6 separate regions of the Homo sapiens genome follow, and all the other regions are linked to region 5. The links are contacts of gene promoters, found by promoter capture Hi-C in human tissues and cell types (Jung and others, 2019). All regions are on one chromosome and are shown on one strand. The core of a region is centred on a gene start or on the middle of the fragment in contact, and the rest is flanking DNA. Distances in the headings are between cores, read along the strand shown. Region 1 overlaps ARMC10 (armadillo repeat containing 10). Region 2 overlaps FBXL13 (F-box and leucine rich repeat protein 13). Region 3 overlaps FBXL13 (F-box and leucine rich repeat protein 13). Region 4 overlaps NAPEPLD (N-acyl phosphatidylethanolamine phospholipase D). Region 5 holds the start of FAM185A (family with sequence similarity 185 member A). Region 6 overlaps NAPEPLD (N-acyl phosphatidylethanolamine phospholipase D).

What was found. The method cuts DNA at HindIII sites, captures the fragments that hold promoters and counts their contacts. A contact is called where the count stands out against the background at its distance.
Region 1: a fragment that was not itself captured here is called in contact with the fragment with the promoter of FAM185A in region 5 in 7 of the 25 tissues and cell types used here (H1 embryonic stem cells, IMR-90 fibroblasts, dorsolateral prefrontal cortex and 4 more).
Region 2: a fragment that was not itself captured here is called in contact with the fragment with the promoter of FAM185A in region 5 in 7 of the 25 tissues and cell types used here (H1 embryonic stem cells, IMR-90 fibroblasts, bladder and 4 more).
Region 3: a fragment that was not itself captured here is called in contact with the fragment with the promoter of FAM185A in region 5 in 5 of the 25 tissues and cell types used here (IMR-90 fibroblasts, mesenchymal stem cells, mesendoderm cells and 2 more).
Region 4: a fragment that was not itself captured here is called in contact with the fragment with the promoter of FAM185A in region 5 in 3 of the 25 tissues and cell types used here (hippocampus, mesendoderm cells and thymus).
Region 6: a contact is called between a fragment that was not itself captured here and the fragment with the promoter of FAM185A in region 5, in 7 of the 25 tissues and cell types used here (H1 embryonic stem cells, dorsolateral prefrontal cortex, hippocampus and 4 more).

What each region holds. Positions count from the first base shown.
Region 1 is chr7:103,083,526-103,087,602 of GRCh38, forward strand. ARMC10 (armadillo repeat containing 10) reads left to right here. Exons shown (of 7, transcript NM_031905.5): 3 at 157-305; 4 at 3,105-3,239. Among named protein-coding and RNA genes, the nearest start is that of ARMC10, 10 kb to the left of the region's middle. The HindIII fragment of the contact is 7,401 bases long and covers 1-4,077 here.
Region 2 is chr7:103,044,274-103,048,057 of GRCh38, forward strand. All of the region lies in intron 3 of FBXL13 (F-box and leucine rich repeat protein 13), which reads right to left. Among named protein-coding and RNA genes, the nearest start is that of FBXL13, 29 kb to the right of the region's middle. The HindIII fragment of the contact is 4,592 bases long and covers 189-3,784 here.
Region 3 is chr7:103,017,317-103,021,012 of GRCh38, forward strand. The region is part of intron 7 of FBXL13 (F-box and leucine rich repeat protein 13); the gene reads right to left. Among named protein-coding and RNA genes, the nearest start is that of NFE4, 46 kb to the left of the region's middle. The HindIII fragment of the contact is 6,114 bases long and covers 1-3,696 here.
Region 4 is chr7:103,119,935-103,123,576 of GRCh38, forward strand. NAPEPLD (N-acyl phosphatidylethanolamine phospholipase D) reads right to left here. Exons shown (of 5, transcript NM_001122838.3): 3 at 1-289. Among named protein-coding and RNA genes, the nearest start is that of NAPEPLD, 27 kb to the right of the region's middle. The HindIII fragment of the contact is 6,917 bases long and covers 1-3,642 here.
Region 5 is chr7:102,747,630-102,751,498 of GRCh38, forward strand. It overlaps FAM185A (family with sequence similarity 185 member A), which reads left to right and starts at 1,370. Exons shown (of 8, transcript NM_001145268.2): 1 at 1,370-2,029. The coding sequence starts at 1,579. It also overlaps the pseudogene RASA4DP. RefSeq lists silencers at 1,060-1,149, 1,190-1,359 and an enhancer at 1,093-1,387. The HindIII fragment of the contact is 9,642 bases long and covers 1-3,869 here.
Region 6 is chr7:103,100,193-103,104,151 of GRCh38, forward strand. NAPEPLD (N-acyl phosphatidylethanolamine phospholipase D) reads right to left here. Exons shown (of 5, transcript NM_001122838.3): 5 at 1-3,362. The coding sequence ends at 3,237. Among named protein-coding and RNA genes, the nearest start is that of ARMC10, 27 kb to the left of the region's middle. The HindIII fragment of the contact is 4,955 bases long and covers 233-3,959 here.

The DNA.
Region 1 (4,077 bases), core at 447-2,946, 340 kb after region 5:
TGAGGCAGGAAGATCACTTGAGCCCAGGAGATCAAGGTTGTAGTGAGCCATGATTGTGCCACCGCACACCAGCCTGGGTGACAGAGTGAGAGCCTGTTTCAAAAATAACCTCGTATTGATTTTAGCTTAACTTCAAATAACTTTCTTCTTATGCAGAAGACTTAACTGATGGTTCATATGATGATGTTCTAAATGCTGAACAACTTCAGAAACTCCTTTACCTGCTGGAGTCAACGGAGGATCCTGTAATTATTGAAAGAGCTTTGATTACTTTGGGTAACAATGCAGCCTTTTCAGTTAACCAAGTAAGTACCTCAACTCAGCAAGCAAGCTCTTTCCATTCTTACACACTAGCGGTAATTGTGACCCTGAATAAATTACTTAACCTCTCAGACCCTCAATTTCCTCATCTGTGCAATGTGGCTACTTATACTTAAAACATAATGTTTGTTTACTTCTGAAAAACACAGCCTAATAGTGATATGATTATTAATGTGATTATAGATCCCTATGAAGTTGGTCACTGGCATCACATTCGTAAGTATATCTAATCAACGTTTACCATTTCATGGCCTTTTAAATTATTTAAAATTCAGCAGTGCTTCAGTAAAACAATGAATGCATCTAACATTTAAGTACATACTTTAAATTGTATATCGGTCTTATGAATATGATTCTGATGCTGATGGTCCCTGGACCACACTCTGATAACCACTAATCAATGTAAATGGCTCCTGCAAATGGAGACTTAACACTAAGACTAAAGAGCTTAATTTGAACATGTGCTTCTTCCTACTCTTCCTCACAACCCTCCAGCATGAAAAAATAGTTAAAACAAAATTTCGTAATTGTTTTCAGCCAATGCCCTTTGTTAACATTGTCATAAGTACAAAATTATTTTGAATTTATAGTTTTTTTTAGCCCAGCTTTCTCCAGAATGGCAAGGTTTACTGTAAAGCTCTATAAACGTATAGGGAGATAGAGAATCTTTGTGCATTATGTACTCTTTCAGTTATAAATGACAGAATTCACTTTAAATTATTTTAAGCCTAAAAGGGAAAATATTGAGCTCAGCTAACTTGGACAGCGAAGAATAGCATTGATTTCAGGCACAACTGAGTCCAGTTCAAGGTTGCAGAGTTCCCAGAGTTCTCTCTTTCTCTACCTTTTGGCTTTGCTTATGGCCGCTCAATTTTATGTATTGGTCTTTATCTTTCTGGCCACAAAGTGGTTTTCTTCACCAGGGTTGAAAGAAAGCCACTAGCCTCTCTAAGCCTTCATCTCTGTAGCTCATTATCCAAAAGGTACAGTTGTTCTTCTAGGATCCAGTGTTAACCCTTTGGATCAATCTCCGGGGCAATTTCTGGATCAGTCGAGGGACCATGGCCCATGTTTATTGAGGCCTGGTTCACATGAGCATCCTGCAGCTAAGTAGCAGGGATGGCTGTGAATACAAGTGAACAACAATCCCAGCAGGGACCGTGTGGGACAGAGGAGATGCCACATCTGCCCCCGTGGAAAGAGAGCCACTAGACAAGCAAAAACAATAGCTAGTGATTAATGTGTTAGCCTGCCTTTAAAGAAGTATTTCTGATGGCATAATTTTGTATTCCTCTAAAATAAGTTGTAGTCAGAGTAGGCCAGTACCCACTGGAGAAGAAGTACTTTCTTGAGCAGCGGGGGTCAGTGCCCTCACCATCAATTATAGTACCTTAATCTGCTTTAACAATACAGTTAAAAAAAAAAAAAACTTTTCTAGTAACTGCAAGTCCTTCGAAAGAACTTGAAATTGTAAAGGGAAAGTTTATTTCTCTTTTAATGCTAAGATCACCCTTAACGGTAAAATGGAGTATTGAGCTATTTCTAAGAAGTAGATTTTGGCAGTCTTTTTCTTTTTTCCTGCTAGAATAGCATGTCTTCACTTGACAAGAATAATTTTTAGCATATTTTTCTTACGAGAATTAAAGCGATTTAATTCTTTCAATGTTTGAGCCAAAAGCACATGGTAACATAGTATTGCAACCAACTGTAAGACATCCCAGATTATTTTCCCTCTGAATATTTGGGTACCATTTCTCTTCTTTTTTTTTTTTTTTTTTTTCTTTTTTTTGTGGCAGAGTCTCACTCTGTTGCACGGGCTGGAGTGCAGTGGTGCAGTCTCAACTCACTGTAACCTCCTCCCAGGTTCAAGCGATTCTCCTGCCTTAACCTCCCCAGTAGCTGGGATTACAGGCACTGGCCACCACGCCTGGCTAATTTTTGTATTTTTAGTAGAGATGGGGTTTCACCATGTTGGCCAGGCTGGTCTCTACCTCCTCACCTCAAGTGTTCCACTCATCTCGGCCTCCCAAAGTGCTGGGATTACAGGTGTGAGCCACTGCGCCTGGCCCTGGGTACCATTTTTCAAACTGTGTGGAACCTGATTCTGCAAGATATCAGTGCGTTCCCACCACTTCCACTGCTGAAAAAATGACCCTTTTTTTGTGTTTAGTTCATAGACATACTATCGTCAACACACCCCTCTTCAAGATTCCCAATGCACATGGACATATTAAAGAAACATGCTTACTCTTGTTATACTCAGATTTTCCTAAACTTAGATAACCATGGGAAACCACCCCCCCTTATTTTTATGGAACATCTCTTAACATTTTGAGGGATTAGTGTTTCAAATAATACGTGTTAGCAAAACACTACTTTAGTATTCTAAATCCAAAACACTAACTTTAGTATTCTAAATTATAACACTTTTCCAGTTTTGCCTATAATGGAGAAGTCATATAACTCATCTCAAAGAAAAATAATTTTATTTGTAAGTTGCTTCAAGATCGTTATAGTATCTCTATAAATTTTTATTGTATTTCTCAACATTGTAGTTTAAATAATTATATATCTTAATAATCTTATTTTCAATGGATTTTCTTTACCTATAAAAGTATGGGTAGTGAGATTTTTTTAAAATATGAATTAAATATTTGTATATGGGAAAGAGATTTCCAAAAAGCCGTTGATTTTTAATTGTATTTGTGGATGCAAAGAATTCAGTGAACGGAGATGCATACTGAAGTCCCAGTCCTGCTTTTTTTTTTTTTTTCCCCTCGTAGGCTATTATTCGTGAATTGGGTGGTATTCCAATTGTTGCAAACAAAATCAACCATTCCAACCAGAGTATTAAAGAGAAAGCTTTAAATGCACTAAATAACCTGAGTGTGAATGTTGAAAATCAAATCAAGATAAAGGTAAGTTGACTGAAAATCACAAATGTATAAGGTTTTCTATAAATAAAAAATAACAAAAAGATGAGTAATGAAACTTTAGTAGACTATCCTTTGTAATTTTACAGCCAAGGATTACCTTTAGAGGAATGGAGAATAAGACAGAAGAGGGAGGGACCTGAACTAGCCAATAAGAGGTACAATAAGACTTTTGTTTCAGTAAAATAATGCTTGTTTATTCTACAGGTTATCCTCTACATCAGGGACAGGCACTGGTGACAGTAATAGCCTTAAGGCTATAGGCACCAACCAAATAGTGAATATAGTTGGCTGAAAGTTGGGACAAGACTTTGCGCTAGAACTAGAACTAGTATTACAAGAGATTCATTCAGGGAGCATATCCGATGCTACATATTCATAAATATGGTTGTTAATGCATACAGTTTGGCTAGTTTTGCCTTTGAAATTAAGTGTACTGTATGAGTGTATTGCAAAGTGTTAAGTCACTGTATGCTTTAGCTCTTTCAATGGATGAGGCAAATGTGCAAATAGATTAAACTGACTTTTACAGAATAACTGTTCCTTTATCTTGTTGTATGGGGAGAAATCCTCCATTTTAGGATGCACATAAAATGCTAACCTACGTTACTGACATTGCTTTAATGCTTTTTCAAAAATGTTATTTATGAGGCAGTTAACCTGTAAAAAAAATAGTTAACTTGGTAAATGCCAACAGTTAAAACACTTCAGCCATGGCATATATAGCCAGAACCCAGTGATACCCCTTGGTTATAGAAAAGAGCAGTGTTTTATGTTTATTATTGAAACAGGACTCCCATGTTCAAACTAGAAATTGTCATTC
Region 2 (3,784 bases), core at 1,235-3,734, 300 kb after region 5:
TTACAAGAGATGTTAGATAAATAACAACCAAGTGCAATATGTAGACTCTGTATGAATTCTGATTTGAACACAGCCACATGTAAAAAGACATTTTTGAGACAATCTGGGAAACTAAAATATAGAATATGAATCTGAATATAATCAGGACTAGATGACATTCAGGAATTATTGTTATTTATTCATAAGACAGTGGCACTGTGTTTCTATTCTCTAAAAATATAATCTCCTATTAGAGATGCACACTACAGTATAATATAATTTCTGGGATTTGCTTTCTAATACTCCAGCAAAAATGGAGGAAGAGAGAATAAATTAACAAGATTGGCAAAATGCTGATTATTGTTCAAGTTAGATGATGAGTGATCATTATGGTATTCCTTCTACTTCTGTGTTATATTAAAATGTTTCCATAATAAAAAGATTTTTTAAATTTTATATATGCTTTCTCTTGTAGTTAGAAGGCCCATCTGGAGATTTCATTTCCTAAGAAATGAGAACCAAGTCTGTGAAGTTCATTTCCTCCTTACAATGGTTGATTCTTTCATCTTGGAATGCTTGAAACAATGAAATTGTCTTTCCTTCTACTATTATGAGAGCAGTTCCTACTTTTTCTTTACTATTTGGCTTACTCACAGTTTCCTGTATTCACTCGTCTTTAAGTAGAGACATATTTATCCTTTATAAATAGGCAATGATAAAAGAAAAACTTCAGCCGAATTAAATGTAAAGGAATTTAATTGAGCAATGAATAATTTGTGAATTGGGCAGCCCCCAGAATCACAGCAGATTCAGAGAGACTCCAGTGCAGCCACATGGTGGAAGAAGATTAATAGACACAAAAAGGGAAATGATGTGCAGAAATTGGAAGTGAGGTACACAACAGCTGGACTGGTTACAGATTGGTGTTTGCCTTATTTGAACACAGTTTGAACACTCAGCAGTGTATGAATGGTTGAAGTATGGCTGCTGGGATTGGCCAAGACTCAGCTATTGATACACGTGCATACTCCTAGTTAGGTTTTCAATCTTGTCTATCTATTAAGCTAGGTTGCAGTTCGTCCACAAAGACTCAAATATAGAAACAGGGAATCCTTCTCAGGCCACATTTAGTTCACTTTAACAACTTCCCCCTTTTGGTCATTTTCTCAATTTTGAGAGATTGACCAAAACTTTAATTATCAATGTCACTATCACCATTGTAAAAGTACTTATTTGGTCTTGAAACATACTGGGAAACAGTAGAACATTGAGTTTTGCAAAGGTAAAAACAAGTATGAGTAGAGGGACCCTTTATGGGTACCTCTTTATGCTGGAATGTCCTATTTACAGGAGAAAAACAAAACCTGGTCTGTTCTAGGATCTATGTGTTTCCGTAAAGTCTTAGTTTGATTATGTCACATTTAGCATAAGTGACCCCATTTTAGTTTGGTTTGGCCTGTTGGGGCCTAGTGAATGAGCTTAGTCCAAAACAGTGGCCTCCCACAACTTTGTTTAAAAAAGATTCCCCCCTTTTTGGTCAGGTTCTCACTTAGGTGAAAGTGTGACCAAAACTTAGGGCCTTAGTGCCACTCTCAGTTACCATCATTTTGGGTTTCCAGTCTCACCACGTCATTCATAGGTTATAGTAATCTCATGGTCGCACATTTCTTTCAGCTCGTCTTTCCATTTGAAGAGAGACCATTTGACATTCTAGAGGTGGCTGCATGCAAGATTTAAAACCTTCGAGAGAATACAGTGCACCAGGGAGACTATTATTATGACTCTCAGGAGGATAATACCAAGAGTTTAGAGTATGCTCCTTACCCAGGGTACCCATAAACCGAACCACCTAAAATTAAATAGATTAAAGAATGAGCTGGATAAAGAGTCTACTTGCTTTAAGTGGTCTTTTCATTAATCATCTACAACTGAATTTTTATAATCTACGTTTGATGTATTTCTCCATAGGCCACAAGTGTCAGAAGCTGCACAGGTACTTTTCTGTTTAGCCAATTATATTATTTAGCATAACTTTCACAAGAGAATTTAAAGTCTGTTGTGTAACAATAGGCTTTACATTAGAATCTGCTATACAGCCTATCATGAGGGATACATTTCTAATTATTGCCTCTTTTATTCTAAACCATGGAAAAAGGACCTAACAAATGATGTCCTTCTAGAAGAGTGAAGGCCTCCTGGCAATGTTCTATTTAACCCATGATGTGGGCTAAGAGGAGTTTTGACTGATTATGAGGCGACATATATACCATTAAAGTTTCTCACCTATGTTGGGCCTTCATCTTTTATCCATCAAAGTATAAAGTTATTCATGTATAAGGCTGGTGCAAAATCCTTCACGAATAAAAGTATACCCTATAAGTGCACATAATAGACCCCCTCATCATTTCTATTGGCTACAGAGGCATAAATAAGGAAAAAATATTCAAAGATAAGAGTCTCACAATAGTAGATGTCTTGATCTGTGATCTCGGGAAAAGCTGTTTACATCAAGGATGCCATCTTATTCTGGGGAGAAACTTTCCTGGTTAGTTTTACCTTAAGGGTTCCAATGGGTGTACAGTTCCAATAGTGTGGAGGGACCCTTCTCAGTTGTGAGATTATGAACTTAAAGTTCAAGGTTCCAAAGTTTTGTTGCAGTGTGGATGGCAAGCACAGTCTTTCTCTGATGTTCTCAAAAGATCCAGTCTTTAGGTTCTAGACTGTGAAGCAGTTGATTATCCTCGGTGAACCATAAAAACTTTCTTTACCTGGTGAAAATATACTGTGGCGTAATAATTACTGTAGCATAAAACATGCATTAAAAATGACAGTTGAATGAACTCCCTTTATAAATGTTTAAATGACCCATCGGATAGCCAAACGTACCTGATAGCCAAGCGTACATGAAGGTTTGATTGTCTTCCCAGGAATATGGAACCAAACATTGGTTTTAAACTATTTTTGAAATGTATAAGTCATTATATCAATATATTCAATTTGGATGATTTTATCTTTTCCATGATGAGTCATGGAATGCAGAGCCTTTAATAACAAAAGCTTTAAGGGCTCAGGAAGGACAAGATAGCCTTCCTGGTCTTCCATGAGTCTATGCTTAATATTGGACTTATGTCCTGTTGAATACCAGTTGTTTCTCCAATTTAAATTCATAGCACTGATAACTAATGGTTATCACAGGTAATGAGACTTAGACTATGGAATTCAAATTGTATATCTAATCAATTTCACTATCGGCTGGTTTAACATGAAAATCTTGGCAAAGTATTTTCTTGGTATTTAATTAATTTTTTGTTTTACTTGGGTTAGCAGTTCTATACAAGGAAGTTTGGTTATTTCTGTGATATACAATAACTTAACATAATAACTATAATTATGGTTGACAGTATATACTCAGACATATTAGAATTTTATAAGTCCTATACATTTTTTTTTGTTTGTTTTTGAGATGGAGTCTTGCTCTGTCACCCAGGCTGGAGTGCAGAGGCACGATCTTGCCTCACTGCAACCTCCGCCTCCTGGGTTCAAGTGATTCTTCCACCTCAGCCTCCCAAGTAGCTGGGCTTACAGGCACCCGCCACCATGCCTATCTAACTTTTTGTACCTTTAGTAGGGACGGGGTTTCACCATGTTAGCCGGGCTGGTCTCAAACTCCTAGCCTCAGGTGATCTGCCTTCCTCGGTCTCCCAAAGTGTTGGGATTACAGGCATGAGCCACTGTGCCTGGCCCCATACAATTTTAGAACATACATTAATATCATTCACTAAAATATAACCTGAAGATTAAACAT
Region 3 (3,696 bases), core at 548-3,047, 270 kb after region 5:
CCATCTGTACGTCACCATCATCAAAGACCAAAGGCAGATAAAACCACAAAGACGGGGAAAAAACAGAGCAGAAAAGCTGAAAATTCTAAAAATCAGAGCACCTCTCCCCCTCCAAAGGAATGCAGCTCCTCGCCAGGAACAGAACAAAGCTAGATGGAGAATGACTTTGACAAGTTGAGAGAAGAAGGCTTCAGACGATCAAACTTCTCCAAGCTAAAGAGGAAGTTCGAACCCATCGTAAAGACGCTAAAAACCTTGAAAAAAGATTAGATGAATAGCTAACTAGAATAACTAGTGTAGAGAAGTCCTTAAATGATCTGATGGAGCTTAAAACCATGACACGAGAAATATGTGACACATGCATAAGCTTCAGTAGCTGATTCCATCAAGTGGAAGAAAGGGTATCAGTGATTGAAGATCAAATGAATGAAATGAAGTGAGAAGACAAGTTTAGAGAAAAAAAAGAGTAAAAAGAAATGAACAAAGCCTCCAAGAAATATGGGATTATGTGAAAAGACCAAACCTAGTTCTGATTGGTGTACCTGAAAGTGACAGGGAGAAGAATCAAGTTGGAAAACACTCTTTGGGATATTATCCAGGAGAACTTCCCCAATCTAGCAAGGCAGGCCAACATTCAAATTCAGGAAATACCGAGAACGCCACAAAGATACTCCTCGAGAAGAGCAACTCCAAGACACATAATTGTCAGATTCACCAAAGTTGAAATGAAGGAAAAAATGTTAAGGGCAGCCAGAAAGAAAGGTCAGGTTACCCACAAAGGGAATCCCATCAGAATAACAGCGGATCTCTTGGCAGAAATTCTACAAGCCAGAAGAGAGTGGGGGCCAATATTCAAAATTCTTAAAGAAAAGAATTTTCAACCCAGAATTTCATATCCAGCCAAACTAAGCTTCATAAGTGAAGGAGAAATAAAATCCTTTACAGACAAGCAAATACTGAGAGATTTTGTCACCACTAGGCCTGCCTTACAAGAGCTCCTGAAGGAAGCACTAAACACGGAAAGGAACAACCGGTACCAGCCACTGCAAAAACATGCCAAATTGGAAAAACCATCGATGTTAGAAAGAAACTGCATCAACTAATGAGCAAAATAACCAGCTAACATCATAATGACAGGATCAAATTCACACATAACATATTAACCTTAAATGTAAATGGGCTAAATGCTCCAATTAAAAGACACAGACTGGCAAATTGGATAAAGACTCAAGACCCATCAGTGTGCTGTATTCAGGAAACCAATTTCACATGCAGAGGCACACATAGGCTCAAAATAAAGGGATGGAGGAAGATCTACCAAGCAAATGGAAAACAAAAAAACAAGCAAGGGTTGCAATCCTAGTCTCTGATAAAACAGACTTTAAACCAACGAAGATCAAAAGAGACAAAGAAGGCCATTACATAATGGTCAAGGGATCAATTCAACAAGAAGAGATAACTATACTAAATATGTATGCATCCAATACAGGAGCACCCAGATTCATAAAGCAAGTCCTTAGAGACCTACAAAGAGACTTAGACTCCCACACAATAATAATGGGAGACTTTAACACCCCACTGTCAACATTAGACAGATCGAGACAGAAAGTTAACAAGGATATCCAGGAATTGAACTCAGCTCTGCACCAAGCAGACCTAATACACATCTACAGAACTCTCCACCCCAAATCAACAGAATATACATTCTTCGCAGCACCACATAGCACTTATTCCAAAATTGATCACATAGTTGGAAGTAAAGCACTCCTCAGGAAATGTAAAAGAACAGAAATTATAACAAACTGTCTCTCAGACCACAGTGCAATCAAACTAGAACTCAGGATTAAGAAACTCACTCAAAACCGCTCAACTACATGGAAACTGAATAACCTGCTTCTGAATGACTACTGGGTACATAATGAAATGAAGGCAGAAACAAAGATGTTCTTTGAAACCAATGAGAACAAAGAGACAACATACCGGAATGTCTGGGACACATTTAAAGCAGTGAGTAGAGGGAAATTTATAGCACTAAATGCCCACAAGAGAAAGCAGGAAAGATCTAAAATTGACACCCTAACATCACAATTAAAAGAACTAGAAAAGCAAGAGCAAACATATTCAAAAGCTAGCAGAAGGCAAGAAATAACTAAGATCAGAGCAGAACTGAAGGAGATAGAGACACAAAAATCCCTTCAAAAAATCAATGAATCCAGGAGCTGGTTTTTTGAAAAGACTAACAAAATTGACAGACGGATAGCAAGACTCATAAAGAAGAAAAGAGGGAAGAATCAAATAGACACAATAAAAAATGATAAAAGGGTTATCACCACTGATCCCACAGAAATACAAACTACCATCAGAGAATACTATAAACACCTCTATGCAAATAAACTAGAAAATCTAGAAGAAATGGATAAATTCCTGGACACATACACCCTCCCAAGACTAAACCAGAAGATGTTGAATCCCTGAATAGACCAATAACAGGCTCTGAAACTGAGGCAATAATTAAAAGCCTACCAACCAAAGAAAAGGCCAGGACCAGATAGATTCACAGCCGAATTCTACCAGAGGTACAAGGAGGAGCTGGTACCATTCCTTCTGAAACTATTCCAATCAACAGAAAAAGAGGGAACAACCCCTAACTCATTTTATGAGGCCAGCATCATCCTGATACGAAAGCCTGGCAGAGACACAACAAAAAAAGAGAACTTTAGATCAATATCCCTGATGAATATCCATGCAAAAATCCTCAATAAAATACTGGCAAACCGAATCCAGCAGCATATCAAAAAGCTTATCCACCATGATCAAGTGGGCTTCATCCCTGGGATGCAAGGCTGGTTCAACATATGCAAATCAATAAACATAGTCCAGCATATAAACAGAACCAAAGGCAAAAACCACATGATTATCTCAATAGATACAGAAAAGGCCTTTGACAAAATTCAACAACCCTTCGTGCTAAAAATTCTCTATAAATTAGTTATTGATGGGACGTACCTAAAAATAATAAGAGCTATTTATGACAAACCCACAGCCAATATCATAATGAATGAGCAAAAACTGGAAGCATTCCCTTTGAAAACTAGCACAAGACAAGGATGTCCTCTCTCACCACTCCGATTCAACATAGCGTTGGAAGTTCTGGCCAGGGCAATCAGGCAAGAGAAAGAAATAAAGGGTATTCAATTAAGAAAAGAGGAAGTCAAATTGTCCCTGTTTGCAGATGACCAGATGACATGATTGTATATTTAGAAAACCCCATCGTCTCAGCCCAAAATCTCCTTAAGCTGATAAGCAACTTCAGCAAAGTCTCAGGATACAAAATCAATGTGCAAAAAACACAAGCATTCCTATACACAAATAATAGACAAACAGAGAGCCAAATCATGAGTGAACTTCCATTCACAATTGCTTCAAAGAGAATAAAATACCTAGGAATCCAACTTACAAGAAATGTGAAGGACCTCTTCGAGGAGAACTACAAACCTCTGCTCAACACAATAAAAGAGAACACAAACAAATGGAAAACAATTCCATGCTCATGGATAGGAAGAATCAATATCGTGAAAATGGCCATACTACCCAAGGTAATTTATAGATTCAATGCTATCCCCATCAAGCTACCACTGACTTTCTTCACAGATTGGAAAAAACTACTTTAAAGTTCGTATGGAACCAAAAAAGAGC
Region 4 (3,642 bases), core at 1-2,500, 370 kb after region 5:
AATTGTAGTCCAGATGGTCATAGTGGTTGTGACTGATAAGGACCGCATCTATTGGAGGGAGTTCACTTATTGTGCACGGGGAACGACGAAATCGCTTTGGACCCATGTACTGCGATGGTGAAGCACGAGAGCTAAAGATGGGATCCGTGAGAAATATGAGCTCATCCATTTCCACCATTACCGTGGCATGTCCCAGCCATGTGACTCTTAAGCCAGCTTCCCTCACTCCAGCTTCTTCAGGGTTAGTGATAAAATATGGCTTAAGCACTGGGAGTTCTTTGTCTAGTTCCTTTGTGTATAAAGAAAGCAAGACAAAAGAGTAGTTAGAAAAAAAAGTATTATATCATCATAGTCCACATTTTGACCTAAATAATGGCAAGAAGAGCTGTTTTAAGAGAACTAAAGTCATTCAATAAACTTGCTACACTTTTGCTTTTTTCTTGAAAATGCATACTTCTTTCTGAATCTGACTTAATAATCATGATAATATGGTAATCTTCTTCCTCCCAAATGCAAAAGAGAAAATTAAATTTAAAACTTTGAGTGCTGCTAAATGTATCAATTTTTTAAAGGCTCTCTTCAGTACTGCCAGAAGTAGACTGGCCTAGATGCAGTCATTTTTCTATTGCCATTCTACTCAGCTGATGTATTTGCTGCTAAAAACTGCCTTAAAAGCAGGTCAGTCCCTGGAAATAGTAAAGAAAGCTTATGACCATTTATTTGTAGCTCTTGGCTCTCAGACATGAATCATGAATCTGATATTTTTCTTTTTTTTTTTTTTTTTTTTTTTTTTGTCTGAGACAGGCTCTCGCTCTGTTACCCAGGCTGGGGTGCAGTGGCATAATCACAGCTCTCTACAGCCACAACCCCCCAGGGTCAAGTGATCATCCCACCTCAACCTCTCAGCTGGGATCACAGGCACACAGCACCACCATATCCAGCTAATTTTTTATTTTTTGTAGAGACAGGGTCTCATTATGTTGCCCAGATTGATCTTGAACTCCTGGGCTCAAGCAATCATCCTGTCTTGCCCTCCCAAAGTGCTGGTATTATAGGCGTGAGCCACTGTGCCTGGCCTGAATCTCACTTTCTGAGTACCTATAATTCAAAATGGAGCGCTGTGATGATTCCTGGACAAATCACAGTCATAAATTGTTTTCCTCATTCCTTACCTTTCTGATTTTCTACCATTAATCAAACCAACGTGAATATGATCCCTTCCTGTGAGAAGCTGATCACTGAGATAAGGGGGGCCGTAAATGGATATAAAACAATAACTATAACAAAGCGTGAAGAGTATTATCCCTTGGTTATTCTACATTTTATACTTGGATTAAGCTAGGCCAACAAAAAGTGGTAAGGTTGCAGCATCACAGTCCTGGCTTTTATAAAGCTCTTTTACTGAATTGTGCTCTGGTACCATGCTATATAGCTGCATGGAGGTCTCTCATAGGAAGCCACCTCATGAAACTCACCATGTATGTGTTCAGGCTGCAGACTTGGTACCACCTCCACCTTCCTACTTACCCCAGAAACATTTCCCTCCCATCTCGTTTCAGGAAAAATTCTTCTCCAGAGCACCTGGCTTTGTCATTTCTGTCACTGGGAAAACTCTTAAGATTTCATGATACTTCTCTCTTTAGGAAGTTCAGAGGAAAAGCTGAGGCCACCTGCAGCAACGTGCAGCACATGATGGAACATATTTCTATATTAACTTTATTCTTGGCTTTATTTTATTTTTCTAGTCTAATAGTCCATTTTGCTCCTAGACTGGCTAGGTATAGTAATTCTATACCTCATCCAATTCTTTTTTTACTGCTTTATGTATGTTTGTAAGTTGCCACTAAATCAACTTTGAAAGGGTGTGGTACTGGATAAGTAGTTAAAATACAGGTCATGTTATAGCCTGATAAGAAGGAATGAAGAGCCCAGTTGCCAAAGGCATCACAGACACAGTGACTTGTGTGAGTTCCTGAAGAATGATGAGAAACTCATGATGCAGAGAAAAGGAAGAAGGGCATTTCAAGTAGAGAAACCACCCAAGCAAAGGTACAGAGCCAAACAGGAATGTGGTGTTTGAGGGCAGGGGACAAACTAAATCTATAAAGATGGGAACACATTAAGAGCCTTGAGTGTCATGCTTCACTCTAAGACAATGAGGAAGCATCTTTTTTTTTTTTTTTGTAGAGACAGGGTGGGTTTTACCATGTTGCCCAAGCTGGCGTCGAACTCCTGGGCTGAAGCGATCTGCTTCCCAAAGTGCTAGGATTACAGGTGTGAGCCACCACGCCAGGCCTAGGAGGTATCTTTTTGCCCTCACACGTGCACACACACACGTACACATGCATGCATGTGCACACACACATACACACAGACATGACCCAATTATGTTTAGATAAAACAATTCTAGAGTCCAAATGATGGCATGGAGAGTGTCACAACAGTTGCCAAGATATGAAGAGATGAGGACCTGAGCAAAGGATACACCGGTAGACACAGACAAAAGAGGGCAGATGGGGAGATGCTGGTGAAGGGAAACTGAGAGGTCAATGAGAGAGTGAGTCTGAATGGGAAGAAGGCCTGGACAGGAAGAGAAGGAGCAGCACAGGTGGAGGACAAAAAGGTTTCTCTTAGCCACTTAAACCTTTAGTTTCCTCATCTGGAAAACAGGTGTAATAATTGTACCTATGCTTCATTCCTGTGAGGATAGAATTACGAGTGGCTGGGACATAATAAGCACTCTACAAGTAGTCCAAAAGAAAAAGCAAGAAAGTTCCAACCCTGACAACAAACCAGGCACCAATGTTACCAATCTTTTGCATTTCCGTGGAGCTACTAACCTAGTTAAGATGCTAAGAAATATTCAGACATTCAAAGCTCTCCAGATTGCTCAACTATCTGCCTGTCAACTCAATCCATGCACAAGAGCCACCTCAAAAACAGCCAACTTAAGGTATAACTTAAGTCTCCTCTGCTGCAAAATCTCCACTGGCTCTCTACTGCCTGACAAAGTCTGTCTCACCTCCTCAGCCCAGCAGTGAGCTGCCCAGGGACTGCCCCAATTCTCTCGGGCGTTTCATGCTCCTCTTCCACATGTGCTGTGTCCCACCTACATGGAGACTGCTTCCTACTCCTAGACTGAGCTCAAGAACCCTGCACGGTACTCATCCCATTTCTCAGGTTAAATTATCTTCCCCCTTATCCCTTCGGGCCATCTCTTGAGTCCCACAGCTAGAAGCACTTACTCCTGCCTCTCAACTTCCATATCTCCCTATTCACACATCTCCTCTGGATATTCTGGTTATGTGTACACAGAATTTGTCCCATGTCTTATGAAAGGTGGAATCATTCAGTGCTCAGTTTGATTAATGAAACACAGCATGTGCTCAACAAAATTTGTTGAATGGATGAGTAAATGAATGAATGTCAACTTTCAATCAGTTCTTAAATTTGGGAGTTAGGGTTAGTGAACAATGACATATGCCAAGAGGTATACTTATCCAGAATTAATGAGGAAAGGGAGAGGGAATGAATATAAACTGAGTACCTACTAAGTACTCGTACTTGGCATCATATTGGGCACATAATGATGATGAACTACCTAATGTATCAAGTACTTTAGCATAACACAAAACAAAATAC
Region 5 (3,869 bases), core at 120-2,619:
CAGTCTATCTATCACGATAGCCCCAAGAATTCTGGTCATTGTACTTGGGTAAGGGCTTCTATTTTTTAAGGCACTTGCATTTTATGAAATGTTAGTGTTTGCAGGTGTCTTGGCTAAATAATTTAGGGAATACATTTTAGGAGGAAGTAGGGGCACAGAGGGGGAGAGAGAAACCAGGCAGGAAAGAAGAAAAAAAGAAAAAAGAAGAAAATAAATCTTTCTGTTCCCATTATTTTACTGCCTATAGAATTATAAAAGGTAAACACACACACACACACACACACACACACACACACACCCCTTATAGGGTCATTTAGAACCATCTTTCTTCATTTTAAAACTAAAGAAACAGGTCTAGGTGACACAGATGAAGCAGTGGCAGAGCCAGGAAAATAACCTGACCCTTGTCCCTGCTCTTTCCACCGCACCATGGTGACTCTCTTTTTTGTGTCTTTTTTTTTTTTTTCACTCTAAAACTGAGGATCATTTGTAGTCAAAGAGATCAATGCTATTCTCAAAACAAGTTCTGATCTCTCATAATTTTCTTGGTAACTCAGAATCAATGTTAAGTACGTTGAAATAAAAATACAGTTCTTTACACGGTAATTTTGTAGACTGTGCACCACGGTCCCATCCATTTTCTTACTTGATCCTTACAAAAACCCTTTGAGGCAAGGCAAGGAAGGTATTATTATCTACATTTTTAAAGTGAGCAAATTAAAACCCAAAGTAAGGTCACTTAGGGTCAGGACGGAGCAAGTACTCTATTCCTATATTTGGAATATAGGAGGGAATACACTTCCAAAGAGGCAATTCCCTCAAAAAGCACCAATCTTGCTCTTTACTTTCTTACCAAGGCATTCTCCATGCCCTGGAGATGCCCTCACTAAGTTAGTGAAGCTTGGATGTTGACATCCACAGAGGTTACTCCTAGTTTGCACCTAGTTGTCATCTTAAAAAGCGCAGTTTCTTACCCCTTCCCTTGGTCCTGATCCTTATTTAGGCTCCTATTTTTCTCTTTGGGATTTGGCGTCCTGGGTCTCACTCCAAAGCTCCACCCTCTCCAACCAAGAAGTCGCGTGCTTGGTATCCAAGGTGACCACGCAGCTTTACCCGCGTTGCCCCTTCCGTGCTTCCCATTGGCCAGTGGACTCCCATGTACCGCCCCTCCAATAGCCAATGGTCTTGAGACAAAGGGCGCCCGCCTTTCCAGCGATTCTAACACCTACCCTCTTACCCGTGCTCCCCTGCGCATTGCCTCCTGGGAAATGTGGTTTCTAAGAGGCAGAGCTCTGCGACTTAGAACTACCTATCCCGTCGGCCTTAGCGAAAGGGGGTGGACTTAGGCAAGGGGTCCAGGTCAGAGTTTAGAGCTTTCAAATCCCAACTTGCCCCTGGGGATTGCGCGGCTGATGTTTAGAACGCCTAGTCAAGCCAACCGGCTCGCTCTTGTTTCAGCAAACCCTGACTTACGTCTCCTATTTGACTTGAGGCGGCACAGTGGCCAAGTCGATTGGCCGTGGCAAGTGACCCTCCCTGTGGCTGAAGTGTTCTGAGGACTGGCGAGAGAGGCGCGCCATGCTTGCCCCCTGCTCAGGTTGGGAGCTTGGCTGCTTCCGTCTCTGTCTCCGTCAGGTCCGACTGTGGGCTGGCGCTGGGCGCTGGGCTTGCTGGGCTTGCCAAGCCAGGCCGTACAGCTCAGGTGGGAGCGAGCGCTGGCCCGGATCGGAGACTGAGGTCCCTCCGCCTGGCCCGGGGCGCCGAACTCTGAAGGAGTGGACACTGCAGGTGAGCCCGTTTGGTCGGCTGCGGGCGCGGCTCCCGTGCCACCTGGCCGTGAGGCCCCTGGACCCCCTCACCTACCCGGATGGCGACCGCGTGCTGGTCGCGGTGTGCGGCGTGGAGGGCGGCGTGCGGGGCCTGGACGGCCTGCAGGTGAAGTACGACGAGGATCTGGAGGAGATGGCCATTGTGTCTGATACTATCCACCCCCAGGCGTCCGTGGAGGTGAACGCGCCCCTGAAGTTTGGCAAGTGAAGTGAAGTGAAAACGGGTTTGGGTCCCAGGGAACGCACAGTGAACTTAATAAATGTGGTCGACGTGCACTTTTAATTGGTCCTGGCTCTCTAAACCTAATTTACAGTTGGCCCCTTCGGAAATGCACCTTTTCCTCTGTTCTGTTCTTGAGTGTCCGAGTAGTATTTAAAAATTAGGTTCCCAATTATAGAAATTTTATACATCGAATGGAAACATGATTTGGTATAATCCAGGTCAAATTCTATTTCTGGAGCCGCTTGTGTTCTCCTTTATCCCGTTGTCATTAGCAAACTGGCTTATTTTTCAAGGTTGAAGTTTCTTGACAATTCATTCAATGGTATGGCAGTCCATCTACATTTCATCTTGCTCACAGCCTGGGGGTCTGTCCCAAAACAGCCCTGTCAATAGGATGTTCCGGGTATCACCTGGTTTGAGTATTTGGTTTTAGACGGGCGCCCAGCTTCTTACTGTTATATTTCCATTCTTTTTGGCCTAAGTTTTCCATGAGTAGCAAGCTTTGAAGAAAAACACATGGTAAGCCTGCCTAGGAAGCTTCAATAATAATGCCTGCAAGATACCTTTCTTAGCTTTTCCTAAATGGCAAGCCACTGTGTACACACACTTTTCTAGGAAGGGCTCCCCAGACTGTCATTCTTCCTGGGACTGATGGAAGATATTGATGATGATGATGATAGTAATAATAATAGCATTTAGCATTTTTAAGATCATCTTTTATAATGCTTAGAGTTGCCCAAATAGTAGATGCCGTAGTCCTCCCTTATCCACCGTTTGGCTGTCTCAGTTTGTTACCTGCCTCAGCTGTTGTAGGAAAATATTAAGATATTTTGACAGATCACAGTAATATAACTTTTATTACAGTATATTGTTATAATTGCTGTATTTGTTATTATTGTTCATCTCTTACTATGCCTAGTTTATAAATTAAACTTGATCATTGATATGTATACAGGAAAAAACATAGAATATATAGGATTTGGTACTATTTGTGGTTTCAGGAATCAAGTGGGGGGGCGGGTCTTGCCTACTTTAAGAGAAATCATCAATATTTATGTTAATTCCAAATTAAATATCAGCGTTTTTAATTTTTAAAATTTGTATACAGAGATGCCTGCAGTTACATCTTAAATAGACAGCCAAGGATGGCATTTGTAATTCCTTATTTTCCAAACTTGCTTCATATACCACTGCCATTTGTCCACAATCTTGTGGGGTTTTTTGTTTGTTTGTTTTGGTTTTTTTTGAGACTGCATCTCACTCACTCTGCCACGCAGGCTGGAGTACAGGTGCACAATCATGGCCCACTGCAGTCTTGACTTCACGGTTTTAAGCAATCTTCTCGCCTCCACCTCCTGAGTAGCTGGGACTACAGGTGCATGCTACCATGCCCGGCTAATGTTTTTGTTTTTTTGTAGAAATGGAGTTTTGCTACATTGTCCAGGCTGGTCTTGAACTCCTGGGCTTCAAGCAATCCTCCTTCCTCGGCCTCCCAAAGTGCTGGTATTACAGGCATGAGCCACTGCTCATGGCCTAATCTTGTAGTTTTAATAGTATATATTAGCTTTTTCAAAGTTGTTCCCATTTTTAAAAAATTACTTCAAATACCTGTGATATAGTTGCATGGTAATATTTTCATTTTTTAAGTATGAAAGGTTAGACATAGGATTTGAAAACCTAAGTCATGATCATATATACTGGGGAAGAGGCTTCTACAGTCTTTCACAGGAGTACTTAACAGAATCGTAGTCTCCTTTACTTCCCATCTATGTTAGTTCTCTTTAGGTGATTTAGGCCAGTAGAAATAACTGCTCTGT
Region 6 (3,959 bases), core at 1,460-3,959, 350 kb after region 5:
GAACAAAAGTATTCATTCCCCAAAAGGCACATTTCTTTATAACGGTTTTTTCAAATCTACCTCCCTATTTAATGAAAGCATATTCATTAAATATGAAACTATGCATACATTAAAAACCAGGATTTGTTTTTAATGTGCTTTAGCAGCAGTAGATTCTAAAACTGTGTCTTCTTGTCCTCTCATTAGTTTGAATAATCACACTCCCTAGAGATCAGAGCATTGAGTCTGAAATGTCAAAATGCTAGAGAAAAGAGGGAGTAATTTTTAACTACCCAGAAAGAAGATGCACAAATACATCTTTTCCTACGTAGGTCACGGCATATGTTGGCTTTTATAATTTGGGATTTCTCCTAATTGATGACCCACCCTATTGGGCAGTGAGGCATAGCAAAGTATTCCTCAGTTATCACAGGAAACTTCAATAAAATCTTACATATTGCTATGGGTATTCACGAAGAGGAAAATGAAGTTGACTTAGAGGATAAGACTGATTAAAAGACACTACAATGCATATTAGACTGAATTGAAGAAGAGAATGGATTTGTCTTATTTTTCAAAATTTGTTTTCACTTTGCACATAAACCCTTCAAAATGTAGATAACAAATGAAAAATAAAGTGGAACCCACTCAATAAGGTGAGATTCTGTAAGCAGAGATGAAGCTTGATGTTCTTAATGAATAGTGTCAGTGTAGAAAGAACATGAGTGGTAATAAAAAATTACAGCTTACAAAAGGGCCTAGAAAAATGAGGCAGGCCAGACGAGTGGAAATAGAACACAACAGTTTAAAGTGCTTTGAGACCCTCAGTTAAACAGTACACGTGAATACAAAATAATGTTAAGGCCATTCATGGAGAAGAAATACTTAAGCAAGACATACCTGGCTTGCTTCATAGAGAAGAGGTAAGAGATGGATTTTCAATTCGGCGTGCAGCAGCAGGGAATATGGCTACAACAACGCTGGCTAGTATTAGGGCAACACACCTCAAAGCTAACTCACCATAAACCTAACATCTTGATTCACATCTGCTTGGAGTGAAAAAGTTTATGATCAGTCTTTTCAGGAAGGTTTATTTTATGGGGGATTTTTTTGTGCTTTAGTACCCCAAAATCACATATGTTCGCATACATCATATACACACACATTGCATACACATTTCCCCTTGACTGATTCGCATCTTTGTAGATAAACACTAAATTTTGATAAAGATTATTTACACTTATTTAGGCTATTACTCCAATTTAAAAATCAGTGAAAGTTTTCAATGTTTAGTCTCCTAATATATAATGCTTAAATTTGCAACAGGAACAATACATTATCAAAAGCATTAACCTGTATTTAGCTTTCAAATATACCTGTCTATATTAGGCAGTGATATCTTAAGAAATCATTTTCTCCCTTATATTTTCTAAAGTGCTTTAAAAACTCATTTAATCTACACATTTTTCAGAGGTAGGTCGGAATTATCCTCTTGTTGCAAATGAGGAAACAGGCACAGTGAGCACTGGTGACTTGTTTCAGGTTACACAAAAAAATCCATGATGAAAGCAGGGTAAAAGTTCAGATTTAGTGGCTAACGTGGCACCACACATACAGGTGTGCAAATAAATTATAGAGCACTGCCTGGGTAGCATTTGGTGTAGAAAACCTATTTTGATTATTTTGTATGAATAAAGTGCTGAGACTGGATTAGGAATACAGAATGGGCCTCCAGTGGTATCTAATCCACCTCCCTCCCTTAGGAAGGGTCAGAATAATCAAGTGAATACAGAGTCCTTATTAGGACTAAATCTTATGTCAACTGACTCCCCCCCCGCCCCCCAACCACTGGCATTCATACTGGCTTACCAAAAGAATCATGCTTAAGGTTCATTTAATATAAAAATGTAAGACATCTGAATCAGGTAAAAAAAATTATAAATCTGATTGATATATTTAGAGCTAAGAGACTCCAGGAAAAAAAAAATGTGTAGAGAAAATTAAAAACAAATTTAATTCAAAGAATATGGTCTATTAACATTTTGTCTGTAAAATATTTCATTGTAGCTGTATTTGTGCTTAGAAGATCTTCTAGATTTAAAAACAGAAAATGGCATAAATCATATTCTCATAGCCACACTCCTTCCCTTCCTCTGCTCAGCTAAGGAGAGGGCTTTCTTTTGAGACAGGGTCTCATTTTGTCGCCCAGGCTGGAGTGCAGTGGTACGATCACAGCTCACTGCAGCCTCTATCTCCTGGGCTCAAGTGATCCTCCCACCTCAGCCTCCCAAGTACCTGTGACTACAGGTACACACCACCTCACCCGGCTTTTTCTTTTTTCTTTTTTTTTTTCCGAGAGAGACGGGAGGTCACCATGTTGCCCAGGTTGATGTCAAACTCCTGGGTTCAAGTGACCCACCCACCTTGGCCTCCCAAAGTAAGAGGTCTTTTGGGAATTGTAGACGTGCAATAGAATATACTGTTCCCTCTCATCTGAAGGCTCTAGGAAAAAAAGAATATACTGTTCTTTTAAAAATTTAAGTGAATGGTGGTCATGGGTGCATTAATGCGAAAGAACTGTACACTTAAAAATGGTTAAAATGGTAAATGTTTAAAATGGCAAATATGTATTTATATATTTTACCACAATAGAGAAAATCAAGTCTTTAAAAATGATAGCCCCTATGTTTTTATGCTTACCTAAATAAACCATATTTAATATTTGGCATATAAGCTAATTTGATAGAGCAAGAATTGCTATGTTTATAATAAGCATGTTGGACTGAATTTCATCATTTATTAGAATGTGCATATAAGAAAGATACTTGTATTTGTAGGCCTCTGAAAAACATCTAGGTAGGTAGAGAGCCTTGACTCACCTTGCCGAAGGTCCTGAAGAATGGAAAAAAGAAAAATGAATCTTCAATATCGGTTTTTCACCTCAGGAAATTCTAGTACCACAAAAATATAATGTTTTAGTAAAAACATTTCCATTGCAGTGCTTATATCATGATATGAAATTTAAAATCCACATTAGCCAATTCATTATTTAAATGACCCACCCCTGAACCCTCTCATAGTGTACATGAGCTGATCATACTAGGAAGCAAGTTATTACACAAAACATAAAACATAAACTTGCAGAAGTTGTTTCCAAATGTAAAATAATCACAATATTCATGAATTTCTAAGTCTTTTCATTTGTTTTTAAACTTAGATGATGCCTTTTTCATTAAAAGTGCCTGTGCTCACATTTATTAAAAGTTTTCATCATCATTATTTAGGTATCTTGATTCTCCATGCTTCAAGACAAAAAAATCTTCAGCGTTAAGTCCGTATCTCTCTAGAGCTTCATTCAGCTTCACTGGAGGCTCTAAGTAATGCTGGCCAAAGAGAAAGAAGAAAAATAGAAAAAGATTAAACATATATTTGGGAGATTTTCCAAATAACAGTTCAAACTAAAATAACCAACAGATGCCTAGTTAGAATTAGGCCCTTTCTTTTAATTGAAGCATTAGCAAATGGGTCTATCACATTTTCTAATACAGTTTTGAGTCATGAATTAAGTCAACAGGTATTTGGTTGGATAGAAATCATGCCAACACCATGTATGTGAAATTTGGTGCCATCTTACTTTGAACATCACTGGATTGCATGAAATCATCACGGTTTCACCATATGAAATTCCAATCTAGATGGAATCAGTGCCAAAGATGATGTTATTAGAGAATTACATGTTACTAACATTTTTGAAAAATATAGAAATCAAATTGTGGTGTGTGTGTGTGTGTAACCAAATGCTAGAGCAAATTGTTTTGCTGAAGAAGGGTTGTTATCCTCAAAAAGTCTAGTCACATACAGAAACCACAGTCTACAGAATGAAAGAGGATCCCAGAGAATATGAAGGTTGAGCTCTGTGTGGCAAAGAGGAGTCAAGATTTTGCCCTGAGGAATTGCTAAATGGGAGTCACCCTTTACTG